Linked DNA regions of Homo sapiens: region 1 is linked to region 2. Evidence: promoter capture Hi-C in 16 types of primary human blood cells and fetal thymus (Javierre and others, 2016). All regions are on one chromosome and are shown on one strand. Each heading gives the region's core, a stretch centred on a gene start or on the middle of the fragment in contact. The rest is flanking DNA. Distances are from core to core; before and after follow the strand shown.

Region 1 (5,211 bases), core at 1,103-3,602, 51 kb before region 2:
TACTCACCATAATAAAATTCATTGTGTGTTCCAACCTTAAGGAACGGTATTTTCAAAAGCTCTGCTTTTGTTAGCATCTACCATTACTAGGTGTTAACATTTTAGAAGAAGTCAAATTAACAACTTGATTCAGGCATTAAAAATTGGGGGAATATTTTTAAGGGGTCATAAATTTTTAATAACAACATAAATCTACCTGCTTACATCACCTTAGCTCAGTCAGAAAAAAGGCATCTCCCCAGTGGCTCGTCCAAATAATGAGTTATGGTGATAAAGTAGCATATCTAGAGTAATATAAACTATTCAAGTTTCACAGGGTTAGGTGGACAACAGGACTTAATGGATATGTGCAGTCACAGAGGTTGAATACTCAACTAGCATGTGTTAAGGAGGCCAGGCTTACTAGACGTTATAGTCATTGCTGAGTTTCAGGCACAGAACAGGGACTGCCAATGCTCATCAAACATCCTGCCTTTTCCTGCAGTCAGGTTGGTGCAACGTGACTAAGTGGTCAGTCAGATGTAAGTGACCAGATGTCGGTCACACAAGGGCAGGCCATAAAAAACATCTTATGTGATCCTCTCCCTCGTGGTGACCTTGGAGGCCCCAAGTTCCAGGGGGGATATCTACAAGAGGGAGGAAGACCTTGACTCATACGGAGCTTGAATGTGAGCAAACGGAACTTTTTACTGGATTAAGCCAGTGAGACTTTGAGATTTGCCCCCAAATCAACACCTAACAAGGCATATCTGAAGAGATCTGGTGAACCGCCTGGGTCAACACAGTAGAAGTTTATTTGTAGCTTCAAATAACTTCTGGATAAGGAATCAAGGACCACAATTACAATCTGCCATTGTTCCCCAGCAGGGAGGGACCGTCCTAACTGTAGTGAGGCATCTGCTTTGAAGATTTCTACTCCAACCCAGCTCCTAAGGCACATGCCTAGTATGTTGTAGGAGAGAAGAGGGGAGAAGAGATGTGCCAAATACTCTTGATTAGGCCTCCAGACCTCGTCTGTCTTTCTCTGCTTTGTTCTCAATCACAGGATCTGCCCGCCCCTCTGGCTTCTGGTTGAACGGGGTCAATGGAGAAGATTTTAGACTATCACACGGAGGAAGTGGAGTGAAGTCAGGGTAGCTGCTCCACTTGCTTTTTCCCTTTCTGGCCATGAACTTGGCAATGGCTACATTCTCCTACATGCTGCTCATCCCCTCTTTCACAGCTACAGCCTCCAGGAACTCTGTGCCTGCCCCTCCCAGGTGCTAGTGCAGTCCCTGAGTGCCTGCCATCTCTTGCTGCTGCTTCTAACCCTACTCATACCACCCACGAAACCTGCTGAGGGTTCCATCTGCTTCCTATCAGGGCTGATGCAGGCTACCTGTATTTTTATTGAAATTTCACAACACAAGGTAGCACTATTTATCTGGTGAAGCACCACCAAACAAGAAAAGGCAGATATCCTCCCTACTCTGACTCAAGGCTCAGTGCAGCTTGGCTATTTGAAGGCTCCCAGACACACACTGGCACCTGTGAGTGACGGAATAACACTCATATCTCTGGAGGTAAAAGGACCCAGCAGGGATCACGTTTGTCTGCAAGCAGTTCAAATGCAGGCACAAAAATGTGGCTGGGTACTTGTGCACAGCTTTGCAAGTTGCTGAGGAGCTATCAACTGCCAAGGTATGCCCAAAGCCACTGAGATAACCCCTAGGGATACCCAGAAATAGATGGGGAAGGGTTTAAAGTTGATCAGGGTCCCACTAAAAGAAGGACGGGCAAGAACCAGGGAAATAGAATTTAACGTTCTTCATTACCACTTACGTGATTCTAAGCTGGTGTGACCTGAGAAATAATCCTTTTTAGAAGAAGCTGCTATGGGAAAAATCATTGAACATAGAAAGTGTCTTAACAAAAGAAATAACCTCTTTGGAGTGGATTTTAGTTCACTGTTTATATGCCAAACTTGACTGTTTGTGTGTGTGTATGCATGTGTGTGTGACAACACCATTTCAAATGTGTCATTCAAAGTCCATAATAAAATGTATTCAATATTCAAAAATTTAGAAGAAAAATGTGAGCAAGCTTGGCCATCTGTTCATGCCAGTAATTCATAAACCATCAATTGTAGACGAATATTTAAGCCTTAGACATTTACTTATTCTGCCCTGTTGTACTTATTTCCATGTTCAAAACTGTCTTTTATTTTGCACATATGGCCACATCCTTTTCAACATTTATATTTTTATGCAAAGAAGTCCCACTAACCCTTGATTAGTGAGGGTTGGTCAGAAGACAAGCTTACTGCTTGAGTGGCTCTAATTTTAACAGCATCGTTCAGTCCTTCTACGTGGCAATCAGAACTTACACATCGTTCACTGTAGTTCATGCCATTTGCATGAAACTGACATAAGCTGACACTCTGCTGTATATCTTGGCACAATATTGCTTTCATCTCTGGAGTCGGGTGTCTTACAAATTTAACATTGTCAGTTGGGACCGTCCAAAGATATTTACAGGTATGTAAGATTGTAGAATGGCTGGAAATGTTTTCTGTCATCTTCTCATGATTAGCAGTGTTTGTTTGGTTATATTGGCATTGCTCAGGAAAGCTTTTCCCAGAATAAAGCGTGTCTTTCATTTCTTTCTATCAAGCAGTATATTAAAATAAACCATTTTTAAAATAATCATTACAATGGGAACAAATTCTTTATTGTTAAGTCAATTGTTTTATATTGAATTAGCTATGCCAAATTTAATTTAACTTAAAGATGTTCACATAATATTTATTTTAGAGTTATTTTATATTCTTATTATGCCTTAAGTAAATTATATTTCAAACAACTTGTTGGCTCAGCGATATTTTATTTCTACATTGAGTTTTAGCAACTCTAAAAAGGCTTTGTAAAAATTAACTGTAGGATGGAATAAGATATTTGCAATACCCTTCTTGAGTTTGTTTTCAGGTATTTCAAGAAGACATAGTGATTTCCAATTGACATTTATTCCAATAAGTTACAAAATTCTTTTGTTTGAAATCATTTTATGACATCTGGACCAACTTACTTTTATCTTAAGTGGCACTAGAGATATGTTACCAGAGCGAGGAAAGCCTATCAATGAGATCAGTGTCAAAAAACATAAATAAAAAATTTTAAAACGAGGAAGGAGTCAAATTTATGCTATGAAATCTGAAATTGATAAAGTTACCATCTCTTCCATTTTTAACATTTCAAGATAACATTTTCAAGAAAATCAATAGATGCAAATTATTTTAACAATTACAGAGAAATGAGAGATAATTATTTATTGCCACTAACCTTCTGTCTAACTTCGTTGGGTAAATACAGGTAAAATCTCATTTTAACATATTTAATAATTATATCCTGATTCATTTTGGAAATTTGGTCCACTTCTCAGCTAACAATTCATAGTAACTCTTGTACTGATTAAAAGACCGTAAATTCCAGGTACATACACACACACACACACACACACACACACACAAAAGATGTGTTCATCTTTTTTGTTAACCTTTACTCTGTCTTACTAGCCAATAAAGGTTATGAGCACTTCGATAAGATTCAGATCCTTAACTTGAACACATTTGCTAAGCTAAATAATTGTGAAATTGTGATTTAAAATGTGCTGGTGATATGTGGGCATTATGAATATAGTTTTGTTGTTTTGTGCACTTCTGTAAAGATTCTGGCTGGGCAGTTACAGAATATAATTACTGCAGGGTGCTACTAAATAGAGAGGATAAACTGTTCTTGGAAAAGAAAACTTCTTGGTTCTGGTAAAAATTCTCTTGGTGATGGCATACATGAAAGGAGCAGACATAAAAGGACAAACAAAAATAGCAATTTTATCAGTGTAAACAACCCAGAAGTGTCATTGAATGGAGTCAGGAATGCTCAAGGTACACTTCTAATTTGTATTGTCATTTTTGGGGTAGAAGACAAATGCCATCACAGGTTAATCTTAGCACTACTGCCAGGGATCAAACCATGAACTGACGGTCTAACCCCAAATATGTTTATGTAATTTTTACTAGACATCACATTTTCCATTCTCATTGAAATTAGTTCACCTTCTAACTCTTTTTGTATCTGACACAAATTATTTTAATGCATATGCCTGAAGGCTCCTGTTAATTTAACAGGCAAATATGATCTGATATCTTCTTCATTTTAAGTTGATAAGATAATGTTGAATATTTACACGTGCCTTTAAATATACATGTGAAAGCCAGCAGTACCTTGAATATTTCAATCAGCAGAGGATAGCCTGAATAATAGATAGAAGGGAAAGGTAAATTAACACAAATCAACATGTAATATTAAGGAAAGTGCTATAACAGTTCAAAGTAATTCCTTAAACAAGTTCAAAATTCTGGTTCTGATGGCAATGACTCCTAATTAATGTTTAAGGAAGAAAGCAAATAACCATCATGAAGAAGTAACATGCAGCAATGCAGTTTGGTTCAGTAAGCAGTCACATAATCCCCTTTGAATTACCTTCTATGGAGAAATGGGAGTAGAAAACAATTACCTAATAAACTAGTTTGTTATCTGTAATTTTCTAGACAACAAGAAATCAATTATGGAAACATATTCAATCCATTTTGAACTAGAATAAATATACAAATGTGTAATTATACTAAAAGAAGGGTGAAAAACATGTGGACCTTGGTATTAGAAAGGAAAGAAAAAATGCAATCTAAAACAAAATGTAATGTTATCAGCAAAGCAATGAGAAGAACTGGTCGGGGGTGGGAGTGGTGAAGAAAAAGGCAGAGGATTTAAGAGACCTGGGTATGAGACCTGTCTTTCAATGACCAACTCTGGAATCATAAATGAGCCGCTCAGCCCCTCTGGGATTCGGTTTCCTCTGATACAATGACGAAGTTGAACTTGGTGGTCTCCCAGATCCATTTCAGCTCAAACATTCTGGGAACATTGCCATTTCATGATGGACAGCTTAAATGGAAAGATCACTACTTCGTGCTTAAGAACTGGACCATATGTCCTTTTGTTTTTCTAAATACCTACTCAGTTCTAACTTTTGCTGGTGTCTGGTGTCAGATATTAAGTAGTGGTGATGTGGCATCATTTAAAGGGAGACACAATAATTAAGTAGCAGGTGCTCTGTGGTAAAGTAAAGTTCACTAACGTAGAAAGAACGAAAAAGGAAAGCAGTGAAGAAGCCACT
Region 2 (5,459 bases), core at 1,840-4,339:
CAGCTTGCAGGTTCCTTCTGCAAACACTGGTAGTTCCACCTATATTACATTGCTGAATAAAAACTAAATTGGGTGATTTAGATAGCAACAAGGAACACGAGAATTTATTACTTTTCCCCCTCCCAACTTTGCAATTCCCTATTCTTTTTATTTCTATTACTCCTTTGTCTCTGTTTTGAACCCTATTCTTTTATGTCTACTTAACTTCAGCCTACCAGATAACATTAATTACACATTATTCTGCTTTTCCTTAAGATGTCATTCTTAATATTTTATATTCTACCTGTCTGTTCAAAGAACCTGAATCTGTTTCACGATAAATTTTAGGCCTATTTTCCAGGGCATTTGTAGATTTATGTGTATTATGTTATTATGTGATTATACACAAAAAGTTTAAGAATATGTAAGAATACTAGTTCAGTAGTATTATTGAGAGTAACTGTTGGGAATACTTCTGCATCCACTATGTAGTTGAACACAGCAAAGAAGAAAATCAGCCAAAATTTAACTGCAAAAGAACATCACATGATAAAGAAAGCCTGGTTAAGTGGAAATAACATTCAGATTAGAACTAATAGGTTCAACCAAAGTTTTCATACCAGTGAAGTTTTGTTTTACTTGTATCTGTTCTCCATAAATGGAGCCCATTAGAGCTTAAATGCTTAAGTTAACAAAATATTAATAAAATCAATTGTGTAACATTTCTAATGAATAAAATTGATTTAAGTGTGGTACAAGTCATTTTACCAACTTGCCTTTTTAGAAAAAAGACTGGTATCATTTTATCAATAAGTAAAAAATTAATAAAGGAAACCATTCGATTAAAATGTCTTTTGAGTTTCTCAGATAAAATGTCATGGCTTTCTCAAAAACACATGTTTACAAATTCTAAATCTTGGTTTTAGTGTAATTTTCACAAAATGTTTTTAAGTAGCATAAGTAAATATCCTTAGTAATAACTAAGCTTAAGTGCATTCATGTTAACAAAATTATTTCAGGAAAAATAAATGTTGAAACTGCTTACCTGGCAAGGTTGTTTCATTTTAATGGCTATAACATGGTATCTATAACAGCAAAGTTCACAGGTCCAGGAACCTCTCTCACTGATCCATTTTAGCAGGCACAGCTGATGTGTATACCGAACTGACCCATCACATCGGCAGGGGTTCAACAACTCACCCTAAAAAGAAAACAGCTCAGTGTGAATATCTGTGTCTGTGTCTCTATTTTAAAAACCTAATGCTTCCTTTCTTTTCTTTCAAAGCCATTTACTCAGGATACAGCATCAGGCTCTATCATAGGAAATGAAATTAAAATTTTATACCTCTGATGGGAATGAAACTAAGTCTTAAAACTATTTCAAAGACATTGCTTAGAGTTATGACATAAATGTTCTACCAACATACAAAATGTCTGCAAGATATAGCTCCCAATACCCGTGGGGGAAAGCTGTACTATTAAATCTCTTTAATAACTTTTAAGTGGATGGTCAGATGCATTTCCTCTGCAGTTATTCTTAATCATTGCTAAAGAAGAAACGCATGGCATCCCAGAAAGCGGCATTATGCTTTTTTTTCTAAATGTAGCATCATAAATATTGTCTTAGGGCACTATATTCCTGAAAGCCTGTATATTCTTATGCAATTTCCTTACTTTTAAAAACATTACACCTAATCTTTTCTCAGACCACACATTTGTAAGGGACATATGCTATCATTTCCTCTGCATGATTACTCTCATATAAGTTTGCATGCACCTACAATGGTGTTTATAATTTTAGAATTGTGTTGCTGTCAAAATATAAATTGTTGGCATAATAGCCTTTCTTTCAAAGTCCATTCCTATTTCTCTTGTAAAAACTATCACATGCTTTTCACATCCGTGAGATTAAGTCACCCAAATTTGCAGTAAGGAAAGACTCTGCCCTTTCTGGTTGTGATATGACATCTGTCTCAAGATACATCTGTAGAAAACGGACTTCACCTTACATCTGACAGGTTTGCTTCTAAGCATAAACCAAAATCCATCGAATAATTCACAAAAGCCGCTTTTGGCATTATCACTAAAGCACCTGAGGAACATGTAGCTCCTAAGCCAGGAAGGAAAAAGGAAGTGTAGATGAAATTAAACCCAGTATTCACCACTGGGACATTTCTATTTGCCTTCACAGGAAGGGAAAGGGGAAGGCATATTGGAGCCAGCGCTCACAGGGCAGAACCAGACGAGCCTCACTGGAGGCAAACTGGGAGGTAGGCGTGCGCTGTCCGTGGTGCTGAAAGCTTGACCGGCGCGAGCTGGAGCCGCCACCGGCTGCCTCGGGGTCTCGCCGGGCCTTACCTGCTCCGCGCCCTGGAAGCAGATCTTGCAGATGGGCTGGTGGTGCTGGTGCTGGTGCCCAGCGCGCTGGTCGCCGCCGCCACTGCTGCTGCTGCGGCTGCTGCACACCGAGCGCGTCTCGGGCTGGTCTCCGGCGCCCCGCCGCTCGCGCTCGCCGCCCGCGCCGGCCTCAGACTCCCCGGGGCCGCCTTTCGCTGCTGCCGCCTCCGGGAGGCGCCTCGGACCTTCCCCGGAGTCGCCGGCCGCCGCCACTTCCTGGCCGGCGGGCTGCAGGGGCAGGGGCGGAGGCGGCAGCTCGTCCGCTCCCCTGCACCGCGGGGCCACCTCCCCTAGCGGCTCGCTTGGCCCCGCGGCGCGCTCGGGGGTCTCGGGGGACGCGGGCAGCGGCGGCAGGTAGCGCGGGGCCGCGGGGACCGGGGCCGGCTCTCCCGGCGGCGGCGTCGGCGGCGGCGGCGGGGGAGGTTGCGGGGGAGGCTCGGCGTCCCCGCTCTCCGCCCCGCGACACCGACTGCCGCCGTGGCCGCCCTCAAAGCTCATGGTTGTGCCGCCGCCGCCCTCCTGCCGGCCCGGCTGGCGGGCCGGGCTCTGGCTGCAGGGAAAGAGAGCGCGGAGGGGGCGGGAGGGAGAGGGGAAAAGGAGGGAGGGGGCCCGGACGCCTGGGGCTAGGGGGCGGGACGGGGAGGGGATGCGGAAGGTTCTGCAGCTGCGGCGGCGGCAGGCGCGGCCGTTCGGTGGAGCCGCCGGCTCGGCTCTGATGGAGGCGGCGCCGAATTCGGCTGCGCGTGAGAGCCGCGCCGCGGAAGGGGGGGCCGGAGAAGCGAGGGGGCGGGAGGGAGGAGCGGCGCGGCGGGGGTGACGGGGCGCGGGCGCGGGGTGGGCTGGGGGCGCGGATCAGTGGGACGGAGTTCGGGGTTCGGCTCCGAGCGGGCGGGCTGGAAGTGGGGGATCCCTCAGCCGCCTCCACGGGCCGGCCCCGCGCTCACGTCGGTTCCGGGGCGGATGACCCCTCTCCAAACGGCGCAGCGCTGCGGCTCTCGTGAGCTGGGAAGTAGGGGGCAGGGGAGAGGCCGCGGGTCCAGAAACCGTTACTGGATGGGCCGGTGGGATGTGGCGCGGGCCGGGTGGGGCGCGACAGTCTGAGCCGAGACCCGCGTGGGCTTAAGGGTGCGCGAGGCGGGTGCCCTGGGCGCGCCCGAACTGGCTGAGCAGTGGAGCGGGAAAGGGCGCGGGACCCGGGACTGTAACCGCCACTTCCAGGCCCTCGCTCCCCGCGCTTGGAGCCCTCAAGGGCACTCTCAGGGATCCTCGAGAGCCTTAAAACAGAAGTCTCTGGAACCTGTGTCCTCTCCCTGTCTGTCCCGCCCTCGAATCCCTGTGTCCTCCTCACCCGCTCCCTCCTGCAGTGAGCATCCCGGGTTGTTGGTAAAGATCTTGGTGCCTGGGAGGTCGGAGCTTCGTCTCCTGAAATGGTTTATACTAGTGAACCCTGGCGCCACGTTCTGTGGCTTATAATCACTTTCGTCGTTGCCGCATGAGGAAGCAAATGACACCGCCCCTTACCCTGGAAAAGTGGCTGCAGCCTTCCCCGGATCTTAGTTTTACTCACCCCGAAGTCAATTTCTCGGTAACTCCACCCTGCAAAACCTCTGTGGGACTCATCTTCAGGGCAGAGCTAACAGTTTTCTTTCTGGAAAAAAAAAAAAATCCCTCACCTGCAGGGAACTAGGCTGAGAATCGTGCACATGCAGTAGTTTCCAAATCCGTGCAGTGTGAGATCATAAAGCACCGGATTTATATGCGGCAGTGTGTCTATCCGAATTTTCACTGATGTGACGCTTTCAGTCTTTGACACAAAGACACAGAGCAGTCATTTTTGGCAGCGTTTCATAGCCGAAGACCCAGGATCAGAAAGGCAAAATAACTTGTTCAAGGTTATAGAACTATTAACAAAGAACTTCTGTGTTCCCTGACCAGATTTTCTGGTTCAAATGCCAATAATTTTTTCTTCCAATCCTTTCTTCTGCCTCCTAAAATAGTATTGTAGTACATTGTGTGTTTGGCGCCATTGATTCCCACTAATAGATACTCTGTAATGGCTGAGATAAACTACTAGCTTAAGTTCGTTTTTCCATTTCACGTTTTGGCAGTAAGAAGTATATTTGATTCATAAAGAAGACCTACCTCTTTTGACAGAAATTGGTTCCATTTGCCAGAGAGAGAAGGTAGTGAAAAATAATTCAAGAATGTTTTGTCACAAATGGTCTCTGATGAACTAGTTTCCAGGAATGTCCTCTAACACTTAGCCCCTTCAGACTGGCTATTTTTGGTGGCAGAGTGGCAGGCAGCAAGCACATTTTTAAAACAACAATCTCCAGGAACTTACCACGTTGAAGAAATGTGGTTGTCGATATGCTTTCATTTTTGGTCTTCACCTGTCAGAATGACAACGCAAGTTTGTGTATTGCCACAGTCAAGATAATCATAAGCCTTATGATCATCATAAACCTTCTTCATAAGTTCTCGAGTTAAAGACTGTCTAGATTTGTACAGAATCCCCTAAATAATTCCATTTATGACTAGTAAATTTCTACCAGGTGTGATAAAGTGCATCGGTACTCGAAGGACAGCATAAAAGCTATGGGTTTTGTATAAACGGTGTAGAATAATTCAGACAGCGAAGCGGCATGGATAAAGGAGAAAAGGGCCACAAGGCTAGATGTGTCCTCTCAGTTAATTGTTTCTGAAAAATAAAAAAAAAAATACATTTGCTTGCTAAATTGGGTAGCCACGTAAGATTCCTTCCCGGTTTCAATGACCTCCAAAGCTGACCAGTCCCTGAAGGGAAACTTGCTCGTGATCTTCAGTTAACCCAATGCATTTTCAGTGGGTCCAGGAAAAACACCTTCTTTCTAACTTTGGCTACATCCTCTGTCATAAAATTATAAAATAATGGAATGCAGAAAGGATGAATTCCTCTCAGCTGCTGGCAACCAAGTGGAAGAGAGATGGAGACACAGACATCAGATAGAGCAGTGCGCCGGTGGCCACTGACAGCCATCAGTAGCAAGGCGCATCTGCCAACTGAAAATGAATGAGGGGAAATGCAGGTTTATCAAATTTGA

What was found. The method cuts DNA at HindIII sites, captures the fragments that hold promoters and counts their contacts. A CHiCAGO score of 5 or more calls a contact.
Region 1: a contact is called between the fragment with the promoter of MARCHF11-AS1 here and the fragment with the promoter of MARCHF11 in region 2, in 1 of 17 cell types (total B cells). The highest score is 5.2, in total B cells.

The regions. Positions count from the first base shown.
Region 1 is chr5:16,126,779-16,131,989 of GRCh38, forward strand. MARCHF11-AS1 (MARCHF11 antisense RNA 1) reads left to right here and starts at 2,353. Exons shown (of 2, transcript XR_001742612.2): 1 at 2,353-2,516. The region is part of intron 2 of MARCHF11 (membrane associated ring-CH-type finger 11); the gene reads right to left. The HindIII fragment of the contact is 312 bases long and covers 2,296-2,607 here.
Region 2 is chr5:16,176,702-16,182,160 of GRCh38, forward strand. MARCHF11 (membrane associated ring-CH-type finger 11) reads right to left here and starts at 3,090. Exons shown (of 4, transcript NM_001102562.3): 1 at 2,338-3,090; 2 at 1,025-1,180. The coding sequence starts at 2,874. MARCHF11-DT (MARCHF11 divergent transcript) reads left to right here and starts at 3,540. Exons shown (of 2, transcript NR_149044.1): 1 at 3,540-3,739. It overlaps LOC105379640 (a long non-coding RNA gene), which reads right to left and starts at 4,103. Exons shown (of 3, transcript XR_001742613.2): 1 at 3,944-4,103; 2 at 3,725-3,798; 3 at 3,244-3,378. The HindIII fragment of the contact is 7,324 bases long and covers 2,278-5,459 here.